Regions from separate parts of the Homo sapiens genome. Here region 1 is linked to region 2. Evidence: promoter capture Hi-C in 16 types of primary human blood cells and fetal thymus (Javierre and others, 2016). All regions are on one chromosome and are shown on one strand. The core of a region is centred on a gene start or on the middle of the fragment in contact, and the rest is flanking DNA. Distances in the headings are between cores, read along the strand shown. Region 1 overlaps EXOC6B (exocyst complex component 6B). Region 2 holds the start of SPR (sepiapterin reductase).

Region 1 (3,413 bases), core at 604-3,103, 120 kb before region 2:
CAGAAGCAATACTTAAAGACATCATAGCCAAGTATATCTAAAAACTTATGAAAGATATCAGTCCATAGTTTCAAGCCCTATAAACCCAAAGCATGATGAATGTAAAGAAAACTATACTTGGCCAGCCGTGGTAGTTCACACCTGTAATCCCAGCACCTTAGGAGGCTGAGGCAAGAATATTGCTTGAAGCCAGGAGGTCAAGACCAGCCTGGGCAACAAAGCTAAACCCTGTCTCTACAAAAAAAAATTAGCCAGGCACAGTGGCATGTGCCTATAGTCCCAGCTACTTGGGATTAGACAAGTTCTGGAGATAGGTGGCAGTTTTGGCTACAGAAAAATGTGAATATACTTAATGCCACTGAACTGTACACTTAAAAATGGTTAAAATGGTAAAGTATATGTTATGTATATTTTACTGCAATTTTAAAATAAGGTGAAATACAGACATTATTCATACAAACAAAATAAATGAGTCCTTCACTAAAAGAAATGCTAAAGGGAGTTCTGCATACAAAAGGAAAAGTGACCTCAGAATGAAGCACAGAGATGGAGGAGGAAATGAAGAATCAAACAAAAGAGTAAACATACATGAATGGTGACTCTACGAAATAATAAGGATAATGTTGTGTGGGAACAAAATTACATGTAAAATTAAAATTCATGACAACAGTGTAAGATGTAGGAAAGGATAAATGAAAAAGTGTTACATATTCCTAGCAGTGTCAAGGAAGTGATAAAAATATTAATTTATATTATACTCTGAGTCAAGGATACATGCTGAAATTCTTTGAGTAATGTCTAATAACTAAAAAAGGAAGGGCCAGGCCCAGTGGCTCACACCTGTAATCCCAGCACTTTGGGAGGCCAAGGCGGGCAGATCACCTGAGGTCAGGAATTCGAGACCAGCCTGGCCAACATGGCAAAACTCTGTCTCTACTAAAAATACAAAAATTAGCCGGGTGTGGTGACACGTGCCTGTAATCCCAGCTACTCGAGAGGCTGAGACAGGAGAATTGCTTGAACTCAGGAGGTGGAGGTTGCAGTGAGCCGAGATCGTGCCACTGCACTCCAGCCTGGGCGACAGAGCAAGACTCCATCTCAAAAATAAAATAAAATAAAATAGAAAGAAGAAGAGTCAATAGACAGCCAAAAATAATAAGAATCAAGAATAAGCACTTAGGGAAAAAGAAAAACCAGCAAGTATCAGACTTCTCCACAGCAACATTGAACACCAGAAGACAAGATACTCAAGGAAACAAAACATGAGCCAAGAACTTTAATTTCAACCAAGCTAGCCTTTAAATATAAAGTCTATAGAGCTAAAATTTGAATATACAATAACTCAAAAATTGTTGTTCACATAAGTCCTTCTTAAGGCAACTACTAGAGGAGGAACACAAACCCAACTAGATGACAGGGAAAACTTCAATAAAAAAGAATGTCAATGAAGACTGAATATATTTAACTGCAACTCTAAGACAAAAACAAGGTCAGATTAAAAGTGATCAAGTATGATACATAAAAATAGTACATAAAAATTATACAACTAAGAAAAAAAAGAGAGAAGATAGAAAGTAGAATAAACTAGTCAACTATCTTATACCAGTAACTGTGAGCCAAAGCTAGGCAAATCAACTACAGGTCTACAATCCCTAATCGAAAATCCTTGTAGCAAAATGTTTCATAATACCAAATTCTGTACATTTAAAAAAAATACAGCTCATCTGTCACATATTATGTAACATCCCAGTAAGATCTTAAGCATTCCATAATCAAACACATTCATATTTCAGCAGTAAAATATAGGAATATTCACAAAAGTGGTAAATATAAAGATTATTAATATATTAAGTCAATTCACATCAGGTTTTCTTGCCAAATGAATTAAGGCAGATTTTGACAACAAATAGTTTTTAGAGCCTTTAGGATTTGGGGATTACAAATGAGAGATTATGGGCCAAATCAAGTATGCTTGACTACAAAGTAAAGCACTAAGATAATACTATTCCCTGATATTTAATGCTAAGAGGAAAGAATAACAGAAGAGTACACAAGTTAAGTTTCATTGTTGCCCTTGGGTGAGAAATCAGTAAATATTACCTTCAGAGAGAGACAGAGAGAACTGAGGATGCAATACAAAGGAACCACAAGAACAAAAATACAATTTTTTAAAAATTCAAAGAAAAAAAGGAAGCCATTAGATATGGCTTCATGGTAGTGTCTTCCCCCTCGCCCCCAGAAAAATTATTTGACTTGACACTAAGTTGTTTTTAAATAATGATTATAGTGCTCTTCATTTCCAACTTACTACACTTGGAAGAAACAATTGCTGATGAGCATAAAGTCACTAGGGGGCAGCAGAGCATAAAGAGTATCCTCTGAAAAGTGGTGACAACTACAAAGTTATTACATAACCAGAAGTGTCTTCAACTGCTGAAAACATTTCATACTCATCACAAGCACAATAAAACACTCGCCAATTAATTTGTAAAAATTGCTTCTAAGATATTCATTATATTCTTTATAATTGTTGTAATTTTTATTTTGAAATAATTTCACATTGCACAGAACTCTTGTATAGCCTTTATGCAGAGTTCACTAATTTTTGCCATATTTGTTTTATCATTCTCTCCCTACATATATATGCATGCTTATTTTTCTAAACCATTTGTAAGTAGGCTTCATATATCATGCCTGTAAAACTATAGTCTGTACCTCCTCTCTCTTACATAATGATAGTACCATTATGAAATTCAAGAAATTTACATTGATACAATTATATCTAACCCACAGTCCAAATTCCAATTTTGAAGATTATCCCAATAATGCTCTTTAGAGCATTTTCATTTCCTACTGGAAAGTATCCAGTCTAAGATCATGAATTACATTTTGTGGTCATGTCTCTTCAGTTTCTTTTTATCTAAACAAGCAGCCAAATTTATGGACAAAAGACTACTTTACATTATTAAAAATTACTGAGAGCCTGGATGTGGTAGCTCACATCTGTAATCTCAACATTTTGTGAGGCCAAGGTGGAAGGATCGCTTCAGGCCAGGAATTCAAGCCCAGCCTGGGCAACATGGTGAGACCATATCTCTAAAAAAGAAAGAAAAGAGGAAAAATAAAAATTACTGAGTACCCTAAAGAGCTTTTGCTTATATGAATTATATATATATTAGTATGTGCTATTTTAGATATTAAAACTGAGGAGCGATGTCAGCAAGATGGCAGAATAGGAGTTTCCAACACACATCCCTTCACAGAAACATCAGTTTGAACAAACATCCAAGTACAAAAATATATTCAAAAGAACTAAGGAATCCAGGTAAGAGATCACAGCACCTAGGTAGAATGCAGAAATAAGAAAATATACATTAAAGGGGGTATGAAAGACGGCTTCACATTATCCATGA
Region 2 (3,642 bases), core at 231-2,730:
AATGGTAGAAATTTAACAAATGTCAAATGAATGGATGGATGGGATCGTGCTTTCATCAACCTGTCTTCTAAGGCCTGGAGAGCAGGGAGAAGCTATTAAAATTCTTTAAATAGTAAGCTGTTGGGCCAATGAGATCTTTATCTTCAGTGTGAATAGGTAAGTGAAAAGCAGGGCAACTTCAAATGGTATACACATATACAGAGTCTTATCAGCGTTAAAATACCAAAAGCTTAAAAAACAATTAGCCAGGCGTGGTGGTGCGCACCTGTAATCCTAGCTACTCAGGAGCCTGAGGTGGAAGGATTGCTTGAGCCCAAGAATTCAAGGCTGCAGTAAACTGTGATCACACCTCTGCACTTCAGTTTGGGCCACAGAGCGAGACTCTGTCAAAAAAAAGAAAAAAGAAAAGAAAAAAGCCTTCCTCCAAGTTGTTTCTTCCTTAGAGTTGGCAATAATAGTGGAAAGGCGGTAACTTTGCTGTTTAGCCCCAGGGGAGGGATCAGCCCTGTGGGGAATTGGGCTAAGTTATCAGAGGTTACTTACTGCCCTTGCTAAACTCTAAAGAGATTCGTTTTTTAAAAACTGACACACAATATTTGGACATATGTATATACACAATGGAATACCACTCGGCCACTAAGAAGGAAACCATGAAGAGATTCCTTTTTAATATATGTAGCTGCATGCCAACTTGTCTCACGTTCCTCCTCTCCTAGAAAAAAAAAAATGTGGATTTTTCTGAAGCACCTGCCTGGAGGTACAGACAGATGATTGCGCAAACTTGAAGCTGAAAGTGGATGGAATTGCTGCCAGGGAGACTGTAGCATGAGCAGGAGCAGAATCCTGGGGAACACACTTTTAGGGACAGGAGTCAGAAATCTCAGAGAAGCAGGGGTTACTGGTGGGATCACGGAGCTGCTCAGGGCCTAGTAAAAGGGAAAGGTTTTAATATCATTTGGAGCCACTGTGGTTCTCCCAGAGGAAGCTCCTGTCATCCAGAGAGCGGTGAGCTCCCAAACAAGCAGAGACTTCAATTCCTAAACAGGCATAAGCTTCATTCAGGGTGTTCACTGGCCACGACCAGGGACGCCCAGCACCCAGTGCAGGGCCTGCCCTGGAAGAGGTCAGTAGTGCAAAGTTAGGGCTGGAACTGGGAGGAAATTCGAGCATGCGTCCCAGCCGGAGGCTGAGCTTGCGGGCGAAGAACACGGCAGCGCTGGGAACCGGGCTAGGGCTTTCCGTGTGGGCCGCGCCTGCCGGCCCTCTCTGTTGTCCCACTTGGCACGGACTGGGCTACCGCCACGGTTTGACTTCCGCCACCAGCAACCAAGGGAACCAGATCCCAAGGGAACCAGCACCCCTGGGCGCTCGCGGCCCGAAGCCTGAGGTTCCCGCCCCGCCCCGGCAGGGCGGCCCCGCCGACACCCGTAGCGGTCCCGCCCCCCGCGGCCGCACCGCCTCCTGCCTGGTCTCGGGTGCCAGCGCCGCCGGCGGAGAACAGGAGCATGGAGGGCGGGCTGGGGCGTGCTGTGTGCTTGCTGACCGGGGCCTCCCGCGGCTTCGGCCGGACGCTGGCCCCGCTCCTGGCCTCGCTGCTGTCGCCCGGCTCCGTGCTTGTCCTTAGCGCCCGCAACGACGAGGCACTGCGCCAGCTGGAGGCCGAGCTGGGCGCCGAGCGGTCTGGCCTGCGCGTGGTGCGGGTGCCCGCCGACCTGGGCGCCGAGGCCGGCTTGCAGCAGCTGCTCGGCGCCCTGCGCGAGCTCCCCCGGCCCAAGGGGCTGCAGCGACTGCTGCTTATCAACAACGCGGGTAAGACCCCGGGGCTGGAGCGGACTCCCCATGTGAGCGCCCACTTCCTCCACCGCTGGGGAATTTAAGGGCTACTCCTAGGGGTCAGATAGGACGCCTAGAAATCTAAAGCCCTAGTTGTTCCAGCTTGAGTAGCAAGTGGAGGCGAGGTGTACAGGAAGACTCGGTGCCGTCGGGACAACAGTCTGCCCCCACTTCCTGGAAAATTGGCCAGCCGGGTTTTCCAAAGCGCCTGTAGAACTTTCCCGAGCCCCTTGCTCTGCGCCCTCTGGCGGAGGCCTGAGTCAGGGCTTGGAGTCTCCAAACAAGTAAACTCTCTGCTTCTCCAAAGGACCGCTAGAGCTTTCCTTCAGCCCCACGGCAAGGCAGGTGCCTTCTCATTCTGCAGCTTGGGATGGCTAGGTTCCCCAGCTGTGTCTTTCCGCAGAGCTGGGGAAGAGAGAAGCCTCTTCAGAAGCGCTAGGCAGCTTCCTCCTCTAGGTCTGCATGGGAAGAGGATATCTGGAGGAACTTGGGAGGGCTGGGGAAGAAGAAAGCCCCGCCTGCACTGAGTTACTCCTAAGGGTTGGTTTTTCAGGCTCTCTTGGGGATGTGTCCAAAGGCTTCGTGGACCTGAGTGACTCCACTCAAGTGAACAACTACTGGGCACTGAACTTGACCTCCATGCTCTGCCTGACTTCCAGCGTCCTGAAGGCCTTCCCGGACAGTCCTGGCCTCAACAGAACCGTGGTTAACATCTCGTCCCTCTGTGCCCTGCAACCTTTCAAAGGCTGGGCGCTGTACTGTGCAGGAAAGGCTGCTCGTGATATGCTGTTCCAGGTCCTGGCGCTGGAGGAACCTAATGTGAGGGTGCTGAACTATGCCCCAGGTAGGTGGGAAGTCCTGCCGTCCCTGTCCTCCAGAACCCACTGGTGCGCCTCTGGGGGCTGGGCAAGCGGCCTAGTCCGCCCCCTCCAGGAAACAACCCACAGGATTTTGTCCTTGAATCTTGACCCATCACCCCTTAGGGGAAATACAGACCCAGGGGAAATAGAGGTGGCAGGGGCCGGGGATACTGGTAGAGAGTGAGGAGTTTCCTGGACTGGAGGGTGGGGCAGGAAGGTCTGAGGTATTAGATGGAGTTTGGGAGAAGACTGGGGTTTGAGTTCCAGGCCTTCCTCATGTGAAATGGGGAAGACGCTCCCTGCCTCACAGGGCACTTGGGAAGACTGAATGAGATACTGTATGTGAAAATGACCCTGACCTGTGAAGTGTTGCCTCATTGTTAAATAGGACTGACCACACTGTATTGTCTGCATATGTTTGCTTGCCTCCTTCCCTCCCTTGACAGGAAAGCCTTTGCACTATGCAGATGTGTGTTCCTAACACCTAGCAAAGCACTACACTAAGGCAAGCTGCAGGACATGCTAGCTGTATGGAGAGCAGACAGACTTTGTTGAGTGCTGACCATCCCTGGCTGAACTGTGCTGGAACACTATTGAGGATTCTGGGATAAATAGAATAGATCCCTTGCTCTCATGAACGCCAAAGGACAGGGAGTCTTGTGATACTGGGTCTAGTTTCTGATGCCACAGCGCCCCTGTCTTAATAGTGAGGAGTCTCTTTTAGGCTTGAGGTTGCTGCAATCAGAAGGTGGTGACAGAGCAGCCATGGAAAGCCTGAGCAACTTGGGCAGAAATCCAGTAGCCTGTGTCCCTGGGGAATAGGGTCAGGCTCCCAGGGCAGACAGGTAGAATGGCCTGCACAAAGCACAGATGTGGCAGGGCTGGATCCCACCTTGCTTTCAAGTTCTTCCTCATGTTCTCCAGTACCCCAGCCCCTACCACCCCTGCC

Evidence for each region. Contacts are between HindIII fragments. The CHiCAGO score rates a contact against its expected background, and 5 or more counts as called.
Region 1: a contact is called between a fragment that was not itself captured here and the fragment with the promoter of SPR in region 2, in 1 of 17 cell types (fetal thymus). The highest score is 5.3, in fetal thymus.

What each region holds. Positions count from the first base shown.
Region 1 is chr2:72,768,712-72,772,124 of GRCh38, forward strand. The region is part of intron 1 of EXOC6B (exocyst complex component 6B); the gene reads right to left. Among named protein-coding and RNA genes, the nearest start is that of EXOC6B, 56 kb to the right of the region's middle. RefSeq lists an enhancer at 3,173-3,413. The HindIII fragment of the contact is 3,917 bases long and covers 1-3,413 here.
Region 2 is chr2:72,885,928-72,889,569 of GRCh38, forward strand. It overlaps SPR (sepiapterin reductase), which reads left to right and starts at 1,481. Exons shown (of 3, transcript NM_003124.5): 1 at 1,481-1,809; 2 at 2,387-2,677. The coding sequence starts at 1,506. RefSeq lists silencers at 1,333-1,722, 2,361-2,535. The HindIII fragment of the contact is 9,789 bases long and covers 1,051-3,642 here.